Regions from separate parts of the Homo sapiens genome. Here regions 2, 3, 4, 5, 6 and 7 are each linked to region 1. The links are contacts of gene promoters, found by promoter capture Hi-C in blood cells and fetal thymus (Javierre and others, 2016). All regions are on one chromosome and are shown on one strand. The core of a region is centred on a gene start or on the middle of the fragment in contact, and the rest is flanking DNA. Distances in the headings are between cores, read along the strand shown. Region 1 holds the start of CDCA8 (cell division cycle associated 8). Region 2 overlaps NDUFS5 (NADH:ubiquinone oxidoreductase subunit S5). Region 3 holds the start of PABPC4 (poly(A) binding protein cytoplasmic 4). Region 4 has its middle 4.1 kb from the start of THRAP3. Region 5 overlaps ADPRS (ADP-ribosylserine hydrolase). Region 6 overlaps AGO1 (argonaute RISC component 1). Region 7 overlaps TRAPPC3 (trafficking protein particle complex subunit 3).

Region 1 (3,745 bases), core at 1,139-3,638:
TACAGTAAACGTGTTGAATGAAAAGGTCTTTGTGAGATTTACATGTAGAATAAAAAGTTAGGTTAGAACCTCCTGCTAGAAACTCTCATAGTATCTTGTAAAACAGTTAAGATCTCAGGCTATGAAACCAGAATACCTGGGTTCAAACAGACTATCCCACTAACTAGCTTATGAGGCCTTGAGCAAAGTGTCCAATTTCTCTGTGCCTTAATCTTGTCATTTTGAAAAATAGGGATATTATTAGTTATGAAGAAAAATTAGTTAATGTATGTAAAACACTTGGTACAATGCCCATCTGGCATAGAAAGCACAATATGCTCACTGACCACTACTCTATTCTATCTCCTTTGTAGTACCTATACTTTTAATTACATAATTGTATGTGGATTTTTCTAATAGCTCTTTTCTACTAATCTGTATGTTCCTGAAGGCAGAGACAATGTCTGTTTTATTCCCTAGTGCATCTTTAGCACCTAGCACTGTGACTGACACATGCTCAGTATTTGGAGAAATAAGCAAATGAATGGCTTAATAAATAAAAGGGCAAGTCAAAAGGATCATTCAATGTCTAATATGTGAGCAGACCATGCATTTCTATCCAGGAAGGAGACTACATGCTGGATAGTTAATAATAAGGAAAACAGAAAAGGGCAACCCAGCAGAAAAGTACAGCCTCCTGCATTTCTCCGGACATTTAATAAGGGAGTGCAGAAACAGGCTGGGATTTTTCTCTGGCCAGGAAAACTGATGTGTCTTTTTTTTTGAGACGGAGTTTCACTCTTGTTGCCCAGGCTGGAGTGCAATGGCGTGCTCTCAGCTCACCGCAACCTCTGCCTCCCAGGTTCAAGCGATTGTCCTGCCTCAGCCTCCAGAGTAGCTGGGATTAGAGGTATGCGCCACCACGCCCGGCTAACTTTTTTGTATTTTTAGTAGAGACAGGGTTTCTCCATGTTGGTCAGGCTGGTCTCGAACTCCTGACCTCAGGTCATCTGCCCGCCTCAGCCTCCCAAAGTGCTGGGATTACAGGCGTGAGCCACCACGCCCAGCCTGATGCGCCCATTTTTAGGTTAGCAATTTCCATAAGCTGCAGAAGGAGCTGCTTCGGGTTATTCTTCTATCTGAGCTCTGGTTAACTAACCATGTCATTTATTCATTCATTTTTAAATGGGTAAAATATACATATATTTTTAAAAATACTATTTTCTGGCCGGGCGCAGTGGCTGACTCCTGTAATCCCAGCACTTTGGGAGGCCTATGTAGGTGGATCACTTGAGGTCAGGAGTTCGAGACCAGCCTGGCCAACATGGTGAAACCCCGTCTCTACTGAAAATACAAAAATCAGCGGGGCATGGTGGCAGGCGACCGTAATCCCAGCCACTCCAGAGGCTGAGGCAGGAGAATCACTTGAACCCAGAAGGTGGAGGTTGCAGTGAGCAGGGATCGCACCACTGCACTGCACTGCACTCCAGCCTGGGTGACAGAGTGAGACTCTGTTTAAAAAAAATTAAATAAATTTCCTGATGTGTGAAAATTATGTGAAATTCACATTTCAGTGTATCCATAACTAAAATTTTATTGGAATACAGCCCATCCATGCCCATTCACTACAGCTGTTTTGGACCTGTAAACAGCAGAGCTGAGTTGTCCGACAGAGACCGCCCCGCCCGCCGCCCCCCAACCACCCCCCCATTTTTCATAGAGAAAAATGAAGTAGGGAAGTGAGACAGAGAGTGAAAGGGTCTGCAATTTTCCATAAGTGGTCATGTCAGATCTCATTAAAAGGTGACATCTGAGCGAGCCCTTTCTGAAGGGTGTCACCTAACCCCAAGGGGCTCCTGGCCTCCGCCCAGGGAAGCTCTCCAGCTCTTACCGAAGTAGTCAAGCCAGTTCATCTCGCGCAGAGCCTTGGGGAGCCGCAGGATCTCGATGTTGTAGAGGTTATCCACCTCCTTGAGGAGGTTCTGCCTGTCTGACTCAATTTGCTTGATTCGTATTTCCACTGCGGGAGGGCAGAGCCGACAGGACACGGGTCACGGGCGGGCGAATCTGTGCAGCTCGTGTCCCCACCCGCCAGCATCCCGCGACCGCCCCAGGAGGCCGCGACGGCCTGGCCCCTTACCTTCACGGTCGAAGTCTTTCAGAAAGGAGGCGAGCTTCCGCCTCCGTAAGGAGTTGGTCTTGGCCACCCGACTACTGCCCTTCCTAGGAGCCATGGCGCTCGGCGGAGGCTGCGGGGAGCGGCGGAGATGGGGCAGGGAAGCAAGAAACTGGGTAGGGACGAGGAGGGCGGACGGGGACCACCCGAAGAAGTCGCCAGGCACGTACCTGCGGTCCCGAGACAAGGGCTGAGCAAAACCTCGCTGTGCCAGTGAGAGAGAGCGGCTCTACAGTCAACCGCCACCCAATTCAAACTCCACAGTCACAGGCTGACGAATGAGAAGCCGCCGTCCCACAACATCCAATCACAAGCAAGTTCCTGCCGGCCCAGGGTCTTCCGCCCAATGCGCCCCCTATAGCCTGAGTGCGACAGCGAGGCCGCCGCCGTCGCGGGTACTCCTGGGAGTTGTGGTCCAGGCTTGTTTCCCCGCCCTCCCCACCAACCCACCCGGCTCCGCCCTGGCCGGCTGCGAACTATACAAACTACTACTCCCGGCAGGCCTTGTGGCGGCTCTGCAATACCCCAAGCTCTGGAGGGCTGGGGGCCTACTAGGTCAGGTCGGCTGTAGGATTCTGCTCCAGGGTTGGCGGCTGCTTCTTTCTGGCCTGGCTGCCACTGAGTAGCCGAGGGGCCGCCGTGACCCTCTGACTGATTGACTGGCTGGCTGCCTACGTCGGCGCTCCTCAGGGCCCCAAGCTCCTCAGGCCGAACTTCGGGCAAGTGGCGGGTCGGCAGAGACAGAGCAGCCCCGGCAGGGTTTGACAGAGCAAGGGGGACGGAATGATAGAGGAGCAGGGCAGGGGTGCAGGCTTTGGGGGGGGCGCGCTATCCCGCGGCCAGTCTGGGCAGCGAGTGGGGGGAACCCTGTCGTTCCTCGCTCCCCCGCGGGCCGGCCACTCCCGCCCAGTTCGCGTGTTGGCGCCTCGACTGGGTGCGCAGCGCGGGGCTGCGACTTCAGGTGCAAGTAGTGGCGCTTGGCAGCTGGCCACACGGTGACTGCAGCATGAGCCGCGGCCACCAGGCTCCAGGGAGCCCAGGGCAGGAGGCAGCTCTGGGTGTCGTGGCCGTGGGCCTGGGAATGGGCGTGTAGACGGCGAGCCCCGCCGAGCCGCGGTCCTGTCGGAGGTGCTAACTGTGCATCTTGGTATCTGCCCACGGCCACAGGGTTGGATTGCTCAAGAGTTGTGCTGAGACCCAGAAGGCTAGAGGCTAGTTTCGAAGCTGTAGCTCAGGCTGAGTCTCAAGGCGGGCGGCGACTGGACGGCCAGACCGGCGAGCTCTTGACGGGTTTGTGGCCTGATTGTTTGGATTTGGTGCTTTTCACCTGTGGATGCGGTCTGAAGCCATGTCAGAGGGGTTGTGTTTAAGCGTGCATGTTATAGGCTATGGGAGTGATAATCTTGCCTCTCCCCCTCTGAGTTGAGGAACAATCGAAGAAATAAGCAAAGGTGCCAAGCAGGCTCCTGATGGGCACCAGCGAGCTTGGGGACAGAGCAGTCCAAGCATAGAAGTCCTGGCAAGCCTGGACCTTCCTGGAAAGTCCTTTCTCTCTCTTCCACCCTGGTCTGTTGCTCCATATGCAACAAA
Region 2 (3,571 bases), core at 1,055-3,554, 1.3 Mb before region 1:
TTTTAAAATATCAAAAGTTTAATCCCAGCACTTTGGGAGGCTGAGGCGGGTGGATCACTGAGGTCAAGAGTTTAAGACCAGACTGGCCAACAAGGTAAAACCTTGTTTCTACTAAAAATACAAAAATTAGCCAGGGATGGTGGTGCACATCTGTAATCCCAGCTACTCGGGAGGCTGAGGCAGGAGAATTGCTTGAACTTGGGAGGCGGAGGTTGCAGTGAGCCAAGATTGAACTGCTGCACTCCAACCTGGGTGACAGAGTGAGACTTTGTCTCAATAAATAAATAAATAAAAGTTGGGCCGTGGTGGCTCACGCCTGTAATCCCAGCACTTTGGGAGGCCGAGGCGGGCGAATCACAAGGTCAGGAGTTCAAGACCAGCCTGGCCAATATGGTGAAACTCTGTCTCTACTAAAAATACAAAAATTAGCCAGGCGTGGTGGCGCGCGCCTGTGGTCCCAGCTACTCAGGAGGCTGAGGCAGGAGAATCGCTTGAACCCGGGAGGCGGAGGTTGCAGTGAGTTGAGATCGCGCTACTGTACTCCAGCCTGGGTGACAAAGTGGCACGATCTCAGCTCACTGCAACCTCCGCCTCCTGGGTTCGCGCCATTCTCCTGCCTCAGCCTCCCGAGTCGCTGGGACTACAGGCGCCCGCCACCACACCCGGCTAATTTTTTGTATTTTTAGTAGAGATGGGGTTTCACCATGTTAGCCAGGATGGTCTCGATCTCCTGACCTCGTGATCCGCCAGCCTCGGCCTCCCAAAGTGCTGGGATTACAGGCGTGAGCCACCGCACCCGGCAAGCACTTACATATTCTATGTGGAAGTGGCACTGCTGCTGGTGACTATGCAATGGGTATGAATGAAGCAGAAATAGCCAATATGAGTTCTCTTTTCCCCATATGGAAGTAAAGGCCTGATTCTTACTCAGCCACTAGTCACCGCTGAGTCTTGAATTCTGTCTCTTCTACTCAGGGCATTGGTTGCTTCTCAACAAATCAAAACTATGTTACACAAGTGTGTCAAAGCCACAACAATGAACTGGTCCCTGGATTCTGTGACACAGAAAATTTACTAAATCTGATCACATTATTCCTCTGCTCAAAACCCTGCAATGGCTATCTTACTGAGACAAAAAGATGAATCCTTATCATGGTTTACAAGGCCTACTCCAGTGACTTCATCTCTTAATATTCCCCTAGCTCCCTCCAGTCAGCTCAGGGACCTTTGCACTTGCTGTTTCCTCTGCATGGAACATTCTTCCCTCATAACCACATAGCTCACTTTCTTTAAGTCTCTGGTCTGTCTTCTTTTGCTGAGATCTTCTCTGACTATTTAAAGTAGCATCCACCTAGCTCCTGCCCCTAGCACTTTCTATCCTTCTGTTTATTCTCCTCACAGCACTTATTATCACCTGTATTTTTACTTGTTATTTTTCTGCTCTTCCTCCCACTATAGCATAAGCTCACTGACTCTGAGATTTTTTTTTTTTGCTGTTTTGCTTACTGTATTCCTAGTGCCTAGACTAGTTTCTGACATAATTTTTTTAACCAATGACTAACTTTTCACAAAGATACGAAAAATTAGTATATTCAGTTAAACGTCTCATTAACCTTAAAGAAGTAGTGTTGATATAACTTCAGTAGAAAAAACCCTGAAATAAACATTAACCATTTTAAAAGACTACATTCTTACCATTTATCTTAGAGTCTCCCAACACAAGACTAGTCATGGTTTTGAACTATGACAATACCATATGTCAAATCTTTCTCTGAGCTAAAAGCAGTAACTCTGGATAAAAGCATAGGTATTGAAGCCAGCCTTGCCAGGATAAAATCCCAGCTCCACCATTTACTAGCTATGTAAGTTCAAGCAATGTCCTTAACTTTTCTTTGCCTTAAATTTTGTTTGTTCATTTGTTTGTTTTTTTGACACAGAGTTTCACTCTTGTTGCTCAGGCTGGATGGAGTGCAGTGGCGCAATCTCAACTCACTACAACCTCCGCCTCTCGGGTTCAAGCGATTCTCCTGCCTCAGCCTCCTGAGTAGCTGGGATTACAGGCACCCCCTTACCACACCCAGCTAATTTTTTGTATTTTTAGTAGAGAGGGGGTTTCACCATGTTGGTCAGGCTGGTCTTGAACTCCTCACCTCAGGTAATCCACCGCCTCAGCCTCCCAAAGTTAAATTTTTAACTGTGTAATGGGGAAACTAATAGTAACTCATCTCATAGGATTGTTGTGAGAAATACATGCATTATAATATGCTAAGAACTTACAATAGGACTTGATTCTAATTCTGACTCACTAGCTTCTTCACTTACAGGGAGGTATCTGTTCACTTAAGGTGACCCTGAAAATGGTAACTTATCTATTCATAAATTCACAGGATTAGGAAGTGACCTTAGAGCAATTCTTTAATTGTTTCAGATAAGGAAATGAAGACTAAGAGAAAGTGACTTGCTCAAAGTCACAAAACTAGTGGTGGTTTGCTGGACGTGGCGGCTCATTTCTGTAATCCCAGCAGTTTGGGGGGCCCAGGCAAGAGGATCGTTTGAGGCCAGGAGTTCAAGATCAGCAAAGGAAACATAGCAAAACCTTGTCTCTATAAACAATTTAAAAAGCCGCACATGGTGGCATGCACTTGTAGTCCTAGCTACTTGGGAGGCTGAGGCAGGAGGATGACTTGTGCCTAGGAGTTTGAGGGTGCAGTAAGCTATGATCACGCCACTGCACTCCAGCCCGGGTGACAGAACAAGACCCTGTCTCAAAAACACGACTAACAGGATGGGTGTGGTGGCTCACACCTGTAATTCCAGCACTTTGGGAGGCCAATGTGGGATCGCTTGAGCCCAGGAGTTTGAGACCAGCCTGGGCAACACAAGAAGACCCCATTTCTATTTTATATAAATAAAATCAAAATTAGGGCCAGGTGCAGTGTCTCACACCTGTAATCCCAGCATTTTGGGAGGCCAAGGCAGGCAGATCACCTGAGCTCAGGAGTTCGAGATCAGCCTGGGCAACATGGTGAAACCTTGTCTCTGCTAAAATACAAAAAATTAGCTGGGCGTGGTGGTGCACTCCTGTAGTCCCAGCTACTTGGGAGGCTGAAGTGGAAGAATCACCTGAACCCAAGTTGAATCTGCAGTGAGCTGTGAACACGCTACCGCACTCCAGCCTGGGCGACGGGAGTGAGACGCTGTCTCAAAACATAAATTAAAATTAATCAACCAACAACAAATGAGTGGTGGCAGAACCAGCATCAGAACCTGACTCTCCTAACTCCCAATCCAATGTTCTTTCCACCTTACTACAATGCCTCCTGTTGGTATCAATTTATCAAAATCTTTTTTTTATTTTCTTTTTTTTTTTTCTTGAGACAGAGTCTCGCTCTGTCGCCCAGGCTGGAGTGCAGTGGCACAATCTCGACTCACTGCAAGCTCTGCCTCCCGGGTTCATGCCATTCTCCTGCCTCAGCCTCCTGCCTCAGCCTCCCGAGTAGCTGGGACTATAGGCGCCAGCCACTACACCCAGCTAATTTTTTTGTATTTTTAGTACAGACGGGGTTTCACC
Region 3 (3,511 bases), core at 400-2,899, 1.9 Mb before region 1:
GGTGGCGGTTGCAGTGAGCCGACATCACGCCACTGCACTCCAGCCTGGGTGACAGAGCAAGTCTCTGTCTCAAAAAAAAAAAAAAAAAAAAAAAGGCTGGGCGTGGTGGCTCACCCCTGTAATCCCAGCACTTTGGGAGGCCGAGGCGGGCAGATTACAAGGTCAAGAGATTGAGACCATCCTGGCCAACATGGTGAAACCCCATCTCTACTAAAAATACAAAAATTAGCCAGGTGTGGTGGCACGCACCTGTAGTCCCAGCTACTCGGGAGGCTGAGGCAGGAGAATTGCTTGAATCCGGGAGGCGGAAGTTGCAGTGAGCCTAGATCGCAGTACTGCACTCCAGCCTGCCAATAGAGCGAGAGTTGGTTTCAAAAAAAAAAATAGCCAGGTGTGGTGGCGCATGCCTGCAATCCCAGCTACTTGGGAGGCTGAGGCATGAGAATTGCTTGAACCTGGGAGGCAGAGGTTGCAGTGAGCCGAGACTGCACCACTGCACTCCAGCCTCGGTGACAGAGGAAGATTTCATACCCCCCCCACAAAAAAAACAAGAAAACACACACACACACACACACACACACACACACACACACAAACATATATTGAATATTTATTTATCTATTTATTTTTTAGTAACAGAGTCTCACTCTGTTGCTCAGCCTGGAGTGCAGCGACATGATCATAGCTCACTACAGCCTTCAACTCCTGGCCTCAAGCGATCCTCCTACCTCAGACTCCCAAGTAGCTGAGACCACAGGCATGTGTCCCCACACCCAGCCAATTAAAAGAAAATTTTTTTTTGTAGAGATAGGGTCTCACTCTGTTGCCCAGGCTGGTTTCAAATGTCTGGGCTCAAGCGATCCTCCTGCCTCAGCCTCCCAAAGCACTGAGAGTATAGGTGTGAGCCACCTGCCTGGCCAGTTACTGAACATTTAGTACGTGCTATGTTAAGCACTATTCTAGATTCCTGTTCTCATGAAGCTTATATACCAATGTGGAAAAGATAGATACTAAACAGGTAAACAGATATAGAACAACATAATTTTGGGTAGGAATAACAGGCTTGAAGACAAGAAGACAAGTTGGTGTGATAGTGATTAACAATGTTGACGGCTACTTTAGACCACAGGAGGTCTAGGAAGACTTTCCTGAGGAGGGAATCTATAGAAGGAGCACTCCCATAAATGTTCCTTTTTTTTTGAGACGGAGTCTCGCTCTGTCACCCAGGCTGGAGTGCAGTAGCATGATCTCAGCTTACTGCAACCGCTGCCTCCTGGGTTCCAGCGATTCTCCTGCCTCAGCCTTCCAAGTAGCTGGGACTATAGGCACGTGCCATCATGCCCGGCTAATTTTGTATTTTTAGTAGAGATGGGGTTTCACCATGTTGGCCAGGCTGGTCTCGAACTCCTGACCTCAGGTGATCCGCTCACCTCAGCCTGCCAAAGTGCTGGGATTACAGGTGTGAGCCATCGTGCCCAGCCAATGTTTCTTGATTTAATATAGTTATTAGAATATAAACTCCATGAGAGAGGGAGTGACTTCTGGTCCACCATGGTATCTCCAGCCCCTGTATTGACATTGGCATAGAGTAGGCTCAGATTAACCATTTATTTGAATTAATTAATATATAAATACACATATTTCTTTAGTCATTTACTTAAATCAGTGCTTTTGAAGGGGGATGTCTGTGTCTTTTGGCAATTTCTGTTTTTGGTTTTCACAGTGATGGCAAAGGTGGTTCCTGGCACTTATGGAAGAAGGGATGCTATATATCTTGTAATGCGTGTGGACAGTCCCATATAACATAGTCCTATAAAGTGATATGACTTTTTTTTTTTTGAGACGGAGTTTCGCTCTTGTTGCCCAGGCTAGAGTGCAATGGCATGATCTCAGCTCACCACAACCTCTGCCTGCCGGGTTCAAGCGATTCTTCTGCTTTAGCCGCCTGAGTAGCTGGGATTACAGGCATGCACCCCCATGTCTGGCTACTTTTTGTATTTTTAGGAGAGACGGGGGTTTCTTCATGTTGGTCATGCTGGTCTCGAACTCTCGACCTCAGTGATCCGCCCGCCTCGGCCTCCCAAAGTGCTGGGATTACAGGCGTGAGCCACCACGCCTGGCCTGTGATACGACTTTCAAATGACCTGCCAGACTCTCATGCAGATGAAAAGTCTTTTTATAATTATCCAAGCCTAGAAGAAACTTTAAACATAGGAACAGAAAGTATTTCTGTGCCCTTAAACACAAACTAAATGTCCGGGAATGCCACCAGCATGTCAATAGAGGGGATGCTTGTGTTTGGTTTCATTGAAGCTTTACCAAAATGTGCTCATCTTTTCAGAAAATCCCATCACCCATGGATACTGCTTGCATTTCTAGTTCCTGACGATTCTACCTCTAGGTCAACGGTATCCTGAAAACTTCTCAAATCTTTATTGTATTTGGACCCAGACATTTACCTATTGGACCACCTATTATTTTATTTTAACTTATTTTATGTCACCTTCATTTCACAATTTGGCATACCATTTAATTTTTTTTTTTTTGAGAGGGAGTCTCACTCTGTTGCCCAGGCTGGATGGAGTGCAGTGGCACGATCTTGGCTCACCGCGACCTCCGCCTCCCGGGTTCAAGCTATTCTCCTGCTCAGCCTCCCGAGTAGCTAGGACTACAGGCGCATGCCACCACGCCCGGCTAATGTTTTGTATTTTTAGTAGAGACGGGGTTTCACCGCGTTAGCCAGGATGGTCTCGATCTCCTGACCTCCATGATCCATCCGCCTCGGCCTCCCAAAGTGCTGGGATTACAGGCGTGAGCCACTGCACCCAGCCCCATACCATTTAATTTTAAACCTCATGCGTGTGTGCAGGTTAAATGGCTCCTAGGTTCCATTCCCGGGTGATGGGTGGGAGGGTGTTAAGATTTATTTGTTATAGAAAGGGGCCCTGGGGTCTCCCGCAGCCGCGAGCTGGGCGGTCCTCCCGGCGCCAGGGGTCGCTGTAGCGCCGCGCGGCCGCGCCGGGTCGCTCTCGCGTGGCCGCCCCGCCTCGGGCCCCCGGGCCGAGTGGGCGGGCACGACTGCGCCCAGGTCGCGAGGCGCCCTTCGACCAGCAGCGCCCGGGGCGGGCGGGTATAAATGGAGCGGTGGCTCCCTCGGCCGCCTCTCTCCGCCCCGGGTCGCTGCCGCCTCCGCCGCTTTCGGGCTTCGCAGCCTGAGGAAAAAAAGAGAAAAAGATAAAAAAAATCTGAAAACGCTTCAAAATCCTGAAAAAAAAAAAGGAAAAGAAAAAACGAATCCTCGGAGAACCCGCGGGGAAGTCACTTTCGTACGCTTCCGGCCTGCCCCGCGCCCGCCGCCGCAGCGCTTGGCGTCCGTCGGTCTCCGTCCGTCGGTCCGGGGGTGAGCCGCCCGCCCGGCCCGCCGTGCCCTCCCCCCGCTCGGGCCCCGAGCCCCGCGCCCCGCGCCTGCCCCGGCGCACCACGTGTCCGTGCTGCCCTTCGCCGCCCGCCC
Region 4 (4,009 bases), core at 98-2,597, 1.5 Mb after region 1:
TCAGTTCCAGAACACCACAATAAAGCAAAGATTGCAGTAAGGTTAGTCCAAGTTTCCCAGTGCATATTAAAGTTATATAGTATGTTTACATCATACTGTAGTCTATTGTGTGCACTAGTGTTATGACCTAAAATATATATACTTTAATAAAGAATATTACTTAAAAATGCTGTCAGCCTGGCGTGGTGGCTCACACCTGTAATCCCAACACTGGGAGGCCAAGGCGGGTGGATAACCTGAGGTCAGAAGTTTGAGACCAAGGCCAGGCGCAGTGGCTCACGCCTGTAATCCCTGCACTTGGGGAGGGCGAGGCTGGTGAATCACCTGAGGTCAGGAGTTCAAGACCAGCCTGGCCAACATGATGAAACCCTGGTCTCTACTAAAAATACAAAAAATTAGCTGGGCATGCTGGCGGGCACCTGTAATCCCAGCTATTCAGAAAGCTGAGGCAGGAGAATCGCTTGAACCCAGAAGGCAGAGGTTGCGGTGAGCCGAGATCGTGCCACTGCACTCCAGCCTGAGTAACAAGAGCAAAACTCCGTCTCAAAAAAAAAAAAAAAAAGTTCAAGACCAGCCTGACCAACACGGTGAAACTCCGTCGCTACTAAAAATACAAAAGAATTAGCTGGGCGTGGTGGCACATGCCTGTAATCCCAGCTACTCGGGATGTTGAGGCACGAGAATCGCTTGAACCCAAGAGGCGGAGGTTGCAGTGAGCTTAGATCGCGCCATTGCACTCCAGCCTGGGCAACAAGAGCAAAACTGTCTCAATAAAAATGCTGTCATCTGAGCCTTCAGCAAGTGGTCACTTTTTGCTGGTGGAGGGTCTTGCTTTTATGCTGATGGCTGTTGACTGACTAGGGTGATAGCTGCTGAAGGTTGGGGTGGATGTGGCAGTTTCTGATAATAAGAGAGCAATGAAGTTTGCCCCATCCATTTACTCTTCCTTTCTTTTTTTTTTCCCTTTTCATCCACTGAGAAAATGAAAAGTTGACTATTTCTTTCATGAAAGATTTCTCTGTAGCGTGCAGTGCTCTGATAGCATTTTAACAGCAGAACTTCTTTCAAAATTGGACTCACTCATCTCACATACTGCTGGTGTCTTATCAACCAACTTTACATAATATTCTAAATCCTGTGTTGTCACTTCAACAATGTTCGCAGCTTTTTTTTTTTTTTTTTTTTGAGATAGGGTCTCACTCTGTCACCCAGATTGCAGTGCAGTGGCCCACAATATGTGCACACTGCAACCGCCATCTCCCAGGCTCAAAGGATCCTCTCGCCTCAGCCTCCCAAGTAGCTGGGACTACAAGTGCATACCACCATGCTGAGCTAAAATTGTAAAAATTATTTTGTAGAGATGAGGTCTCACTATATATATATATATATATATATATATTTTTTTTTTTTTTTTTTTTGAGACAGTCTCACTCTGTTGCCTGGGCTGGAGTGCAGTAGTGCGATCTCTGCTCACTGCAGTCTCTGCGCCCCCGGGTTCAAGCGATCCTCCTGTCTCAGTCTCCCGAGTAGCTGAGATTACAGGTACCCGCCACCTCACCCAGATAATTTTTTGTGTTTTTAGTAGAGACAGGTTTTCGCCATGTTAGTCAGGCTGGTTCCGAACTCCTCACCTCAGGTGATCCACCCGCCTCAGCCTCCCAAAGTGCTGGGATTACAGGCGTGAGCCACTGTGCCCAGCCGAGGTCTCAGTATATTGCCCATTCTGGTCTCAAACTCCTGGGCTCAAGTGATTTTCCTGCACTGGGTTTCTAAAGTGCTGGGTTCATTTATTCATTCTTGTCATTCATTTACAGATATGAGCCACTGCACCCAGCCTTCACAACATTTACAACAAGAGTTGATTGTATCGTAAACCATTTTTTGACCAGGCTGGTCTCGAACTCCTGACCTCAAGTAATCAGTCCACCTCAGCCTCCCAAAGTGCTGGGATTATGGGTATGAGCCACCACACCTGGCCACAAAATGTATTTCTTAAATAAGACTTGAAAGTCAAAATTACTCTTTTATCCATGGGCTATAGAACGGACATCATGTTAGCAGGCATAAAAACAACATTAGGGCTGGGCACAGTGGCTCACACCTGTAATCCCAACATTTTGGCAGGCCGAGATGGGTAGATCACTTGAGGTCAGGACTTTGACACCAGCCTGGCCAACACAGTGAAACCCCATCTGTACAAAAATACAAAAAATAGCTGGGCGTGGTGGTGTGCATCTGTAATCCCAGCTGCTCAGGAGGCTGAGGCAGGAGAATCACTTAAACCCAGAGGTGAAGGTTGCAGTGAGCCAAGGTCACGCCATTGCACTCCAGCCTGGGTGACAGAGTGGGACTCCATCCCAAAAAAGAAAAAAGTTCTGTCATCCAGGCTTTGTTGTTCCATTTGTAGAGCATAGGCAGATTAGATTTAGCGTAATTCTTAAGGGCCTTAGGATTTTCAGAATGGTAAATGAGCATCGCCTTCAACTTAAAATCACCAGCTGCATTAGCCTGAAAAAAGAGAATCAGTCTGTCTTTTGAAGCCTTGAAGCCAGGCATTGACTTCTGCTCTCTAGCTATGAAAGTCCTAGATGCCATCTGCTTCCAGTGGAAGGCTATTTCATCTACATTGACAATCTGTCAGGGGCCGGGCACGGAGGCTCACGCCTGTAATCCCAGCACTTTGGGAGGCCGAGGCAGGCAGATCACCAAAGGTCAGGAGTTCGAGACCAACCTCTCCAATGTGGTGAAACCCCGTCTCTACTTTAAAAAAAAAAAAAAAGTTAGCTGGGCATGGTGGCGGGTGACTGTAATCCCAACCTCTTGAGAGGCTGAGGCAGGAGAATCGCTTGAACCCAGGAGGCAGAGGTTACAGTGAGCCGAGATTGCTCCACTGCACTCCAGTCTAGGCAACAGAGTGAGATCCCATCTAAAAAAATAAAAATAAAAAAGAGAAAATTTGTTGTTTAGTTTAGCCACCTTCATCAATTATTTTAGCTAGATCTCCTGCAAAATTTGATTCAGTTTCTACATCAGCACTTGCTGTTTCACCTAGTACTTTTATGTAACGGTGATGGCATCTTTCCTTAAACCTCACGAACCAAACTCTGGTAGCTTGAAACTTTTTTCTGCAGCTTCCTCAATTCTTTCAATCTTCACAGAATTGACAAGAGTTGGAGCCTTGTTCTAGATTAGGCTTTTGTTTATGGGAATGCTGTGACTGATCTGATCTTCTTTGTAGGTCACTAAAACTCTCTCTGTATCAGCAATAAGGCTGTTTTGCCTTCTTATCAAATTCATTTATTCCCTGGAGTTGCACTTTTTTTTTTTTTTTTTTTTTTTGAGATGGAGCCTTGCTCTGTTGCCTAGGCTAGAGTGCAGTGGCGTGATCTCAGCTCACTGCCACCTCCACCTCCTGGGTTCAAGCAATTATTCTGCTTCAGCCTCCCAAGTAGCTGGGATTGCAGGCGCCCGCCACTGCACTTGGCTAGTTTTAGTATTTTTAGTAGAGACAGGGTTTCACCATCTTGGCCAGGCTGGTCTCGAACTCCTGACCTCGTGATCCACCTGCCCCTGCCTCCCGAAATGCTGGGATTACAGACGTGAGCCACCACGCCTGGCCTGGAGTTGCACTTTTAATTTCCTTTTTTTTTGAAACAGAGTCTGGCTCTGTCGCCCAGGCTGGAGTGCAGTGGCACAATCTCGGCTCACTGCAAGCTCTGCCTCCCGGGTTCATGCCATTCTCCTGCCTCAGCCTCCCGAGTAGCTAGGACTACAGGTGCCTGCCACCACGCCTGGCTAATTTTTTCTTTTGTATTTTTTAGTAGAGACAGGGTTTCACTGTGTTAGCCAGGATGGTCTCGATCCCCTGACCTTGTGATCCACCCACCTCGGCCTCCCAAAGTGCTGGGATTACAGGCGTGAGCAACTGCGCCTGGCTTTTTTTTTTTTTTTTTTTTTGAGACAGAGTCTGGCTGTGTTGCCCAGGCTGGAGTGCAGTGATGTGATCTCT
Region 5 (3,673 bases), core at 1,131-3,630, 1.6 Mb after region 1:
CCACTTCCTTTTCCTTAATAAGAACCATATGGTGGGTGTATGTGTGTACAAGAGGGGTTCATCTGTGGGGGCTTCCTCTCCTTCCACCCTCTGGTTCCAATTTCCTGTTCTAAGCAGGACTAGGGCCCAGGAGGCTAAGGCTGGGAGAGAAAGGGTGCCAACAGGTCCCTTGGGAATGAGTTGGCTCTGGACGTTTCTGCCCTGTTCCCCGATCAGAGCTCCTCTGCAGGAAACAGGCAGGATGCCCCTCCCAACCCCTCAGTCCCTACGTCAAGCGGAGTGGATAAGGCTGAGATGAGTGCTGGGAGTGGTGGACATTCCTGCTCGTGCAAAGATGGCCACTTTCCCCGCAGCTGCAGGGCCTCGCGCTCGGCCCTCGCCAGGCCAGCCCCACTCCTTGTACCAAGTGTGAACTGGGGTCATTCGGTCTGTGATCTCGTTGCACTGCTCCAAGTCTGGCTGTGTCCAGGCGGTCCATGTTGAAAATGGAGGATGGCTGCTGACTTCTGACTGGCTGAGCAGTGGGTTCCTTCAGGTTCCTTGCCAACCCTCCTCCCCTGCCCACAACTTCTCCAAACAAAGCAGGCTGTTTGCTCACTTCTTCAAAAGGAGGAATGATAACCCAAATCTGCCCAAGTGACACTTGAGAAGGTTTTGGCTGGGGTTCCTGGTGGATTTCTTACTACCTAACGCCCAAGAAAACCAACTAAGGACTCTCAAACCATACCTGGTGGGGGTTCTTCGCTCAACCTCTTCTTCCCTAGGTCAAAGCCACTATCATCTGATGTGTTAGGGATGGGTTCTGATTGGCAGAAATTAATCAGCTCCCAATGGGAGCCCACGGAACTAAGTAGGGTCCCAAGAAAAAAAACGGGAGCTATTTCACAGAGCTGAGCTTCTGCCAAATTTCATTCCTCAAACCTTTCAGGAGGGGTGGTTGGCGTTTCTAAAATGTTTATGGGATTTGAGTTGCAGGTGTCCACTTAACTGACTAGCTTTGATAAACAATGTCAGATTTTAACTATGAAAACGACATTACCTTGTGCATTTTTATATTGATTCCTATTTTTTTTTTAAGATTAAAGTTTAAATGTTTTCCACTAGTCATTTCACTTCTAACTTGGTATAGGAAGCTTAGCTCTCTACATACCTATCATGTGCCCTGTATCACAGAAGATTCAGGAAAAATGCACTTGGGAATCAAAGAAAATGGAACTTCTTTTTGAAAAGACAAGCAACCATGTTAACTGTATTGACACATCCTCAATAAAACCTGTTGTATAAAACAGCACTGTGCTGAAACTGATACTGACACAGAGGTATCTCAAGCCTCTGGGTTCTGTAAGGTGTCCAGGAAGCTCTCTGGGGCTTGTGTGCCTGCTCTTAAGGATCATGCACTCCTCACCAGCTCCCTAACCTGGATTTCTGTCACCACCACATCACAAATGCCTGATGCTCGTAAGCTGCTGAGGCCATGCGCCAGGCAAATGCCAGGAGGCATTTTAAGAAACCAAAGGCAGGTAGTGGCTGGAGCTGGGGGCGATGGCTCAATCTTTACTGGAATATTCCTGCAAGCTCTCAGGGCTAGTGGAGCATGACAGCTGGCTCAGTAGTCCGAGGGCCAAGTTTCAACATCTGATACAAATTATGAATGAAATCATGAATCTTTGCTCCTAAGGGCTGGGCTAGTGTCAGGCCCAGTGCTGAAGACAGGCTGGGGGAGCTGTCCTGGGCGGAAAGCACCTGCTCACAGCCTGCCATGCTCAGCCACGAAAGATCTGTCCCTGGCGCTGGGGGTCTGGGTGGCAGACCTGAAGCAATCTGTGTTTTGAAGAGTCCTCAGCCTAGCCAGAACCCTATCTTCACTAAAACAGATCTGCCCGAGAGTGCTGAAACCGCAGGGCAGCTGCAGACTGCACATGCTCGGCTAGCCACTGAGGCTGGATGCTCAGAGAATGTCCCTGGAGTTTGAGGGGAGGCATCTTCCCCCTTTCAATTTTCCCTTCTTCAGAATGGATGCTAGTCTCAGATACTTGGGAACCCATGTGGGAGGATCGCCTGTGCAATAGAGTGAGACCCCATCTCTAAAAACATGCTGTGTAAAACTTCCTTGCAGGGAAAGGCTTTTGATTGGTCCCAAGATACAGGAGGAGGCACACGGCACTCAGTCCACCCGGGGCCCCGTGATGGTGCCCTCCCCACCCAAAGGTTGGTAGTCTGATGATAGCAGGGCCCTCTGGATCCTTCTACAGGGTTCCTGTTCCTGGCCCAGCTGGGCCTAGCTCCTGTTTGGGGAAGTCAGGCTCTGAGAACAGAAAAATCTGGCTTGTTCCTACCCGCTGCCTCTGGCAAAGCACTCGGCCCAGCAGCCTGGGCCACTTTGAGTGATCTCTAACAGGAAAAGCCACCAGACCATGCCTGCTGTGCCCTTCCTGGCTGAACACGCAGCCAGCTGGAGTGCCTGGCAACACAGCAGCTCATGGCCTTGGGGCCCCAGCTTCTATGACAGTGCAGCACAGACAAAGGCACTAGTCTTCAGAGATCAGGCTGGCAGGGGAGAATCCATTCAGGGCAGGAGAAACAAGAAACAGTGGTGAGATTTACCAAAAACTGTTTATTGCGACTTCCACTGGAAGCTGTTAATAAGCCACATGGCAGCCAAGAGCCAGGTGTGACCTAGATCAGCTGGATGCAAGTGCCTGTCCCTTCATCCACACAACCTGCTGCTCGGGGACCCTGCTAGGATGCGCTTGCTGGCAAACTGGCTAAAACCCAACAGGGAGAAATGATGCTACTGCTCATCATTTCCACCTCCCCACATCCCATGTCCAAGACAATACAGGAAAATGCCACAAGTACCCCTCCAAAATAAACCCGCCTGCGTCTGTCTGTCCTACTGAGGAGCCAGGAGTGTCCTACGGCTCTGCAGCAAACCAGAGACCCAGCACCAGCGAGGCACCAGTCCCTTGCTCGCTGTTCCAGTGACCTCCCCTGCAGAGACCCCAGCCTCACCGGTGTACTCAGTCAGCTCCACAATGCAGGAAAAGTGGGAAGCCACACTCAAGGAAGCGCAGGGTTTCTGATTGGAGCTGTAGTTGGTCCCAGGGGACCTGGCAGAGCCCCAACAGCTGTAGCCCTCATCAACTCTTCTGGAAGACACGGTGCAGGCTTTGGGCCAGGATGTCTGTCTCCTCGTAGCCTTCACAGCTTTGCTGCCAGCTCTCTGGCACCTGATCCATCCCATAGTAGGCACCAGCAATGGCCCCAGCCATGGTGGCAATGGTGTCTGTGTCCCCACCAAGTGAGATGGAATAAATGAGAGTCCTTTGGAGGCTATTGAAGGCAGAAGGGATCTCAGGGTCTGGCTCCATGCAGCGTAGGAAGCAGTAGATGGCGGTGGGTACCGACTCAAAGGCAGCAATGCCATTCCCTGTGGGGAAGCCAGGTTAGAGGGGCTGCATGCTTCCCCAGGCCTCCTACCATTTGACACAAGTCAGCACTCTCGGCTTCAAGCAGGCTGTGACTAAGATCTCAGGCTCTACAGTTAGACCACCTGGGCTCAAATCCTGGCTCCACCACACACTGGCTGCGTGACTGGGAGAGTTACCTAGGGGACCGCTAAGCTTCCTGCTCCCAGATTCAACTCCTTAAGCAGACAGGGAGTAACGTTAGC
Region 6 (3,991 bases), core at 457-2,956, 1.8 Mb after region 1:
GCTTAGGTGTGCATCACTTACCGGTTGACTCTACGGGGACACTTATCCGGCTTGATGTCCACCTCGTAGTGGTACACGTCGATCTTAGGGATGTCCACCTCAAAGTAATTGGCCAGGAGCTTGATTGGTTTCCCCACAGTGCCAATGCCAGGCCGGCGAGGTGCCTGGAACACCTGCTGCAGGGGGGGCAGGTAAGCGCCCGCAGCTACAAGACAAAGAGGCTGGTGAGGGTAAAGTCTGGCAATCTCCTAACTACTCTTATCAGAGGAGGAACAAGGCCTCCCAGAACAGGAACACGAGAGTATAGAGAATGCCTCTTTCCTGCTACCCAACCCAGCCAAGGGCTTCCAGGGGACATCTCAAGCTCATCTGTGTTTTTTCTCTTTTTTCTTTTTTAATCTCTCTCCAGTTAGGAAAATTATCCTTATTGTCTATTTTTAATTCATTAAGTTAATATATAATAAGTTCCTATTGCATGTTAAGCAGAGAGACTAAATCTGGCTCCTAGTAACAAAACCCTTTCTTTCTTCTAGTAGAGTAAGACACTTGCCTCCACCAGGTATCTAGCAGACCAAGAATTTCTATTCTCTGCCAGCCAGATGCTCACTCCATTCGCCACCATGCTGAATACAAAATGGCATAACCTTGATGTTCCTTTATAGGTGGGCAGGAATAAGATCCAGACAAGGCCAGGCTGGAGAGGGCAGGGTCAGTGTTTGAGGCAGAATTAAGGCAACTGAATGGCGAGAGTTGGAGACAGGGAAAAGGAGAAAAGGCTCAAAGGACAGAGTTTGGAGACTAAGGAAAAGAGAAAGGGGGTTGGAGAAGAGGACAGAGCTGGAGGTCACAAAAGAAAAAGGCCAGGAGAAAGAGAAGGCTGGAGTCAAGGGGTGGGGCAAAAGAGGTTAGGGTTGGAAGCTCAGGCAGGAAGAAACAAAGCAGCAACTGGGGAGACAATGATAAAAAAAAAAGCTTGAATAAAGAAAGAACTAACGGGTTTGGGAAGAAGAGGTGGCAATTAGAATGCTGGAGAAGAGACACTGGCTCTGGGAAGAACACAAGATTCTCTCCATGCCCCACAGATCCTTCCACACAGAAGGTCCAGACAGCAGCAGAAGAGATCAATTTCAAGACAGAGGAGGCCCTTGGGAAAGGGATAGGGTAAGGCCAGATCCAGCTACTTTACCCTCTTTTGCCAGTCTGGCTGCTGTCTCCAGTCTTATTTTCTAGCTTGGGGGGAAGAGAGAAAAAAAGGGAATAATATGCTGCTATTGTTCTTGGCAGTAGAGAACTAGCCCAGGTGGGAGAAGAGAGGGATAAACCAGCCCAGAACCTCCCATTATCAGACTTCTGCTTTCACAGTCAGACAAGCTGGGGGGATGGGGCATACCCTCAGCTGGGGGTCAGGAAGAGGTCAGAACCATTCATGGGAGGGGCAGCTTCCCAGAGCTAAGCTGCTCTGTTTCCCTCTAACCACCTGTCCAAGCCCAGTCCCACTCTGCAGACAGGGAAATGAAGGCCCAGCCTGGATGGAAAAGGTCTTCAGAACTCAGCTACATGGGGAAGGGAAAACCTATCTACTAGCACCTGGCTGCCTACCTCAGAAAGTGCTGGACAGAAATTGCACACAAGCTCACGGACAGACAGACACACATCCCCATCACACACATCCAAACACACACTTAGACCTTGGCAATTTACACTTACACACATATCCTTCACTGCCCTAGACTGAGTTCTTCAAAGGCAGGGACTATATCTGCCTTGGTCACTGTTTAATTTCCAGTGTCTGACACACACACAGGAAGTATTCAACATACTGATATGAAATGAATGAACAAACATATCCATAGACACACCACAAAAACACACAAGCACACACAGCACACAGACACACGAACACCTGCAATTGCCCAGAAACAATTATAAACACTACACAAGACAAATATGCACGTTTGTGGGTGTAGCCAGTAAGAGACATCCTTTCCCTCCCCAAGTTCTTATATTTCATTCACCTTCTTCCCCTCCCAGACTGAATAATCATTTGGGGCCTTCGGAGAAAGATAACTCCTAGAGCTGGGGGGCTAGTTAGAAATGATGGGGGATGGGACAGACACTCTAGCCTCAAAGCCTTCTCTTCCCCAGAAACCCGACTACATACCACACATAGCCTTAGAGCACCTTCCTCTCCAAAGAGGCTTTGGGAAAACAGGGGAGCCCACACCCCCACTTCATCTCCAAACTAGGAAAGACAGCAGGAAGCAGGAACCTCTCTCCCATTACATCCCCCTGAAAGCCTAACAACAGCACTGTCTCCTCCCCGCCCCCCTTACCCCAGCTTTTAGTCTGAGAAAGGGAGACACTTCCCTACAGACCCAGACAGGGACAGACGGCCACTTTGTGATGCAGATGAGGGCCCCAGCACAGAGGACAAAGCTTGGGCCTAGGGGGAAAGGGGCGGGACCCTTCTCTTCAGACAAAAGCAAGGAGGGAGGGGCCCTGAAAAGGACACTCCCCCTCCCCCATCCCCAAGGAGCCCAGAGAAGGAAAAGTAACAGAGCTGAAAACCCTGGCTCAGGATTCCTTTCTTGCAGTTCTGAGGCCCACACACCTCCCAAGGAGCCAGACTGCCTATTCAAAAGACACAAATTCAAGGTTAGGTTAGGTTAGGTTAGCTGGTGGGCAAGCAAAGACTAACAAGCCAATCTCTCCAAAAAGGATCTGTTCCATGTGAGTATACACTTTATTAAATATCCACATACGTGCTTAACCATTTATGTTCACACTTGAATGTGATTTGATTTAATTAATAAACATGTATTCTGTGCCAGGGCCTATACACTAGGCACTTGCTAGTTCTACAAATAAACCAGACACTGCTTCTACCCTCAGGGAGCACCCAGTCCACTGTATGTGCTTGGAACACACCTGAGCACAGAAGGCAGACCTGGGCATAAGCCCAGTGAGGCTAGCAACAATGCTTTAGTTTTTGGGGGGTTTTTTGTTGTTGTTTTTTACACAACGCTTTAGTTTTGTGTATTATGTCCTCAGGCCACCTTGGGACACCACTCTAACTTCTTATAAGAGAACAGTCCGGGCCTAGGAAGGAGGCAGTTATGGGGTCCCTCAATTTGCAGCTTCCAGACTGAATCTCAATTATACCCTTTACTGAGGCAAAGCCTGTCCTATTCGGCTTTTCCCAAGGCTTTGGCTGACTCCAAACAGCAGGTTCTAGCTCCTTTCCTATAAGCTTATTTTTTGTAACAAATTTTTAAAAAGTCAATTTTTCATCACTCCAGAGCCTATTAGGAATTCATCAGGATAAAAATCATTAGTCTAGAATGGGTACCAGCAACCAGCAATCCATGTGGACCTCAATGACCTACCCCACTACTCTAGTTCATGGGTTGTTGGAAATAGTCCCCAGCCTTGAAAAACAGAAGTTCCTGGGATGGAGAGAGGGTCCTGACAGAGAGGAAGTACTCAAGTCAGTTGCTCCCTGTGCTTATCCTTACGACTACACAGTCTATACAAGGCTGGTTGTTAAGAGGGAAAACAGTCACTAAGTACTTAGAGATCACTAAATGGATAACTTGAGTGAGGTCGTAGGAGCTATTTCCTTGGGAGGGTGGGAGGGAGTTAGGTCTGCTACAAAAAAAACAAAATAATTCCACTAGGAAAGTAATGAAGTTCATGGCCTAAATGGAAATTTGATTCCCATCCCCAGACCAAATGTAAGGAAGTGGTGAGAGATGACCTGAAGGATTCCCAGGTCCAGGCTCCTCGTCCCATCACAGGGTAAGACACTTAAGACACAAGAGGTATCACCACCCCACAGCCCATCCTAAGGACTCCAGTTTTCTTGAGGCAATCCTGCCTCAGTTTATCCTCTGTTCCTATGTCTTTTCCTCCTCATTGCCTGCAAATAAGAAGTTAAGGCTATCACCTAGGCCTCACCAGGATGAAGGCTATAAACTCCCCCATCCTCCAA
Region 7 (3,561 bases), core at 232-2,731, 1.5 Mb after region 1:
GAAGCACCAAAAGCACAGATTTATTGAAATGAAAGTACACTCCACATAGCAGGAGCAGGCTCAAGCAAACGGCTCAAGAGCCATCTAAATTGTTAGTATGCCCAAGTAACTAGATTTTAGTCTGTGCAAACAGAAACAGCCCTTTTGTCCAATAAACTTTTCTTTAGCCCCAACTATATGCAGAGCTCTGTGCTAGATGCTGTGGGAGATGCAAGGATGAAGTCCTAGTCCCTAACTTTGAGAAGCACATACTCTGTGAGGGAGACAGAAATGTATACCATATATACTGTGTATCTTCTAGCAGTGGAAAAATAAAAAGAAATGTTTGCCATACAGAGGTGTAGTACCGCCTGCACCTGAGTTCTAGTTTCACCACTTACTTGCTGTGTTACCTTGGGCAAGTTTGTTCATTGTTCTAGCATCAGCTTAATCATCTTTTTTTTTTTTTTTTTTTTTTTTAATGAAGTAGGCTGGGTGCGGTGGCTCATGCCTGTAATCCCAGCACTTTGGGAGGCCAAGGCGGGCAGATCACGAGGTCAGGAGATGGAGACCAGGGTGAAACCCCGTCTCTACTAAAAATACAAAAAATTAGCCGGTCGCGGTGGCGGGCGTCTGTAGTCCCAGCTACTCAGGAGGCTGAGGCAGGAGAATGGCCTGAACCCGGGAGGCGGAGCTTGCAGTGAGCTGAGATTGCACCACTGCACTCCAGCCTGGGTGACAGAGTGAGACTCCATCTCAAAAAAAAAAAAAAGAGAGACCATCCTGGCCAACATGGTGAAACCCCATCTCTACTAAAAATACAAAAATTAGCTGGGTGTGGTGGTGCACACCTGTAGTCCCAGCTACTCAGGAGGCTGAGGCAGGAGAATCGCTTGAACCCGGGAGGTGGAGGTTGCAGTGAGCTGAAATGGCACCACGGCACTCCCGCCTGGCGATAGCAACACTCCATCTCAAAATAATAAATAAAATAAAAAGGCCGGGTGCTGTGGCTCACGCCTGTAATCCCAGCACTTTGGGAGGCCAGGGCGGGTGGATCACGAGGTCAGGAGATCGAGACCATCCTGGCTAACACGGTGAAACCCTGTCTCTACTAAAAATACAAAAAAAAAAGTTAGCCGGGCGTGGTGGCGGCCGCCTGTAGTCCCAGCTACTCGGGAGGCTGAGGCAGGAGAATAGCGTGAACCCGAGAGGCGGAGCTTGCAGTGAGCCGAGATCGCGCTACTGCACTCCAGCCTGGGCGACAGTGCGAGACTCTGTCTCAAAACAAAAATAAAAAAATGAAGTAATAATAGTACCTATATTATAGGGTTGTTCTGAGGATTAATTGAGAGAATGCATGTAAAGCTAGCAGTGTAACGGTGCACTTAGAACACAGTTGACACCCAGTAAGTGTCCTCTAGATGTGTTATTAGTAAAGCTAGTAGCCTTCATGTGCCTGTACGGGGGTTGGCTCTGGAATCCCATGGACAATGAGACCTGCCCTTCTCTTGCGTTGGCTTACTGTGACCCAACCCAGTGTCTATTCCCCTGAGCTCAGGTGAGCCATTACTTACGTAGTAGCACTTGGAGTCTCCATGACAAAAGGCTGGAGGGTAAGAGAGTTGGCTGGATTTAGTCTTGCTATTGATCCTCCTCCAGCTGCTAGAGGGGATTCACACTGGATTACCTATTTTGACAAAAATAGTATGAGTCTTGGAGCATTGGCTCTAAAGATCAGCCTCCTGGCCAGGCATGGTGGCTCACACCTGTAATCCCTGCACTTTGGGAGGTGGAGGCGGGTGGATCACAGGGTCGGGAGATGGAGACCATCCTGGCTAACACGGTGAAACCCCGTCTCTACTAAAAGAAAAAAAATACAAAAAATTAGCCGGGTGTGGTGGCGGGCGCCTGTAGTCCCAGCTACTCGGGAGGCCAAGGCAGGAGAATGGCAGGAACCCGGGAGGCAGAGCTTGCAGTGAGCCAAGATTGCGCTACTGCACTTCATCCTGGGCGACAGAGCGAGACTCCGTCTCAAAAAAAAAAGAAAAAAAAGATCAGCCTCCTTAAGGAGATTTGACATTTTGTTTGGGGCACTAACGGGAAGAAAGGCCTCCTGAAAACTGTCAAGTGGTGTCTCACCTGAGTGTAGAGCTGGTTTCATTTACTTTGTTCAGGTTGTGCCTGAAGTACTTGGAGATCATGTTAGCATAGCTGCTATAAATCCTGTGGTTTCTTGTCTGCAAAGCACATTCAAGTCCATTATCTTACTAGATCCTACCAACAACCCTGTGAATGGCATGACAGATTTTACTGTTTTACTGTTACTTTTTTTGAGTTAGAAGATTGAGGCTTAGCCCAGTGAATTGATTTACCTAAGTACTCACAGCTGTTAAGCAGCAAGTCCAGACTCAGAATCAGGCTTTCAGGATCTTGCTGTGTTGTCCAGGCTGGAATGCAGTGGTGTAATCACAATTCACTGCAGCCTTGACTTCTCAGGCTCGAGCCATCCTCTCACCTTAGCCTCCTGAGTAGCTGGGACTACAGGCATGTACCACCATGCCCAGCTAATTTGTTCTATTTTTTATAAAGATGGGGTCTCAATGTGTTTCCTAGGCTAGTCTCAAACTCCTGGGCTCAGGTGACCACTTCCGACCCCTGCCTCCGCCTCCCAAAGTGCTGGGATTATAGGCATGAGCCACCATGCCCAGCCAGAAAGTTGTTTATATTGATTCAAAATCTTCTTTCTTTATGACTTGCCCTCCCTTTTTTTTTTTTTTTTTTTTGGAGACAGGGTTTCGCTCTTGTCTCCCAGCCTGGAGTGCGGTGGCATGATCTTGGCTTACCGCAACCTCCGCCTCCTGGGTTCAAGCAATTCTCCTGCCACAGCCTCCCAAGTAGCTGGGATTACAGGCACCTAGTACCACGCCCAGCTAATTTTTGTATTTTTAGTAGAGACGGGGTTTCACCATGTTGGCCAGGCTCGTCTTGAACTCCTGACCTCAGGTGATCCGCCCGCCTCGGCCTCCCAAAGTGCTGTACTTGCCCTCCTTGAACCTAGTTCAGGGTGTGATCTAGCACCACACCACATGGAACCAGTTTAAGAATAAAAATAAGTATGTATTTCTTGAGTACCTGCTGTGCAGCAGGTGCTCCACAAACATTATCTGATTGGAATTTCATTGGAATTACACAGTAACTCTGAAAGGCAGGTAACATTGTCACCATTTTACAGATGGGAAAAACTAATGTTCAGGAAGATTAAGCAGTGGCTTAGGATAACAAAGCTTTTTACAGGATAATGCTCAACTATAAGTAGGCTGTTGAGTCTCAGTTACTTAACCTGTCATCTGTAAAATGGGGATGAATAATATTTGTTCTGCTAACCTCTCGTGGTTGTTATGAGAAACTGTTACAAAAATAGATGTGTTGCAGAAGCGATTCATGTTTCTGGTGGTAGCGGAGATGTGGTGCTTATGTTCAGTGAAGAGATTGGGCTGGTTGACCTTTATGACCTTTATGATCCCATGAGAACTTTTGTTTTAAAAGTCACAAGGGCTGAAAACCCAGGTCTTCAGACTCTGC

Evidence for each region. The method cuts DNA at HindIII sites, captures the fragments that hold promoters and counts their contacts. A CHiCAGO score of 5 or more calls a contact.
Region 2: a fragment that was not itself captured here is called in contact with the fragment with the promoter of CDCA8 in region 1 in 2 of 17 cell types (fetal thymus and naive CD4 T cells); the score reaches 5.9 in fetal thymus.
Region 3: a fragment that was not itself captured here is called in contact with the fragment with the promoter of CDCA8 in region 1 in 3 of 17 cell types (total CD8 T cells, fetal thymus and naive CD8 T cells); the score reaches 7.4 in total CD8 T cells.
Region 4: a contact is called between a fragment that was not itself captured here and the fragment with the promoter of CDCA8 in region 1, in 1 of 17 cell types (fetal thymus). The highest score is 12.1, in fetal thymus.
Region 5: a contact is called between a fragment that was not itself captured here and the fragment with the promoter of CDCA8 in region 1, in 2 of 17 cell types (fetal thymus and non-activated CD4 T cells). The highest score is 6.8, in fetal thymus.
Region 6: a fragment that was not itself captured here is called in contact with the fragment with the promoter of CDCA8 in region 1 in 1 of 17 cell types (fetal thymus); the score reaches 5.7 in fetal thymus.
Region 7: a fragment that was not itself captured here is called in contact with the fragment with the promoter of CDCA8 in region 1 in 4 of 17 cell types (total CD4 T cells, fetal thymus, neutrophils and 1 more); the score reaches 5.6 in total CD4 T cells.

The regions. Positions count from the first base shown.
Region 1 is chr1:37,691,159-37,694,903 of GRCh38, reverse strand. It overlaps CDCA8 (cell division cycle associated 8), which reads right to left and starts at 2,388. Exons shown (of 10, transcript NM_001256875.2): 1 at 2,120-2,388; 2 at 1,871-1,999. The coding sequence starts at 2,213. It also overlaps a transcript of AIRIM not described here. RefSeq lists enhancers at 1,607-2,115, 2,116-2,626, 2,665-2,854, 2,627-3,136, 3,137-3,647 and silencers at 3,085-3,254, 3,275-3,334. The HindIII fragment of the contact is 4,527 bases long and covers 1-3,745 here.
Region 2 is chr1:39,030,523-39,034,093 of GRCh38, reverse strand. All of the region lies in intron 2 of NDUFS5 (NADH:ubiquinone oxidoreductase subunit S5), which reads right to left. Among named protein-coding and RNA genes, the nearest start is that of NDUFS5, 6.0 kb to the right of the region's middle. The HindIII fragment of the contact is 4,854 bases long and covers 1-3,571 here.
Region 3 is chr1:39,576,441-39,579,951 of GRCh38, reverse strand. PABPC4 (poly(A) binding protein cytoplasmic 4) reads left to right here and starts at 3,162. Exons shown (of 16, transcript NM_001135653.2): 1 at 3,162-3,511. RefSeq lists a silencer at 2,908-3,217. The HindIII fragment of the contact is 1,332 bases long and covers 984-2,315 here.
Region 4 is chr1:36,218,363-36,222,371 of GRCh38, reverse strand. It overlaps a transcript of THRAP3 not described here. Among named protein-coding and RNA genes, the nearest start is that of THRAP3, 4.1 kb to the left of the region's middle. The HindIII fragment of the contact is 6,098 bases long and covers 1-4,009 here.
Region 5 is chr1:36,092,854-36,096,526 of GRCh38, reverse strand. It overlaps ADPRS (ADP-ribosylserine hydrolase), which reads right to left. Exons shown (of 6, transcript NM_017825.3): 6 at 2,595-3,430. The coding sequence ends at 3,141. It overlaps COL8A2 (collagen type VIII alpha 2 chain), which reads left to right. Exons shown (of 4, transcript NM_005202.4): 4 at 1-1,288. Among named protein-coding and RNA genes, the nearest start is that of ADPRS, 5.8 kb to the right of the region's middle. The HindIII fragment of the contact is 2,490 bases long and covers 1,136-3,625 here.
Region 6 is chr1:35,884,641-35,888,631 of GRCh38, reverse strand. It overlaps AGO1 (argonaute RISC component 1), which reads right to left. Exons shown (of 19, transcript NM_012199.5): 2 at 22-205. Among named protein-coding and RNA genes, the nearest start is that of AGO1, 3.4 kb to the right of the region's middle. RefSeq lists enhancers at 1,514-1,573, 2,211-2,850. The HindIII fragment of the contact is 1,464 bases long and covers 975-2,438 here.
Region 7 is chr1:36,143,491-36,147,051 of GRCh38, reverse strand. All of the region lies in intron 1 of TRAPPC3 (trafficking protein particle complex subunit 3), which reads left to right. Among named protein-coding and RNA genes, the nearest start is that of TRAPPC3, 4.2 kb to the left of the region's middle. The HindIII fragment of the contact is 3,569 bases long and covers 1-3,265 here.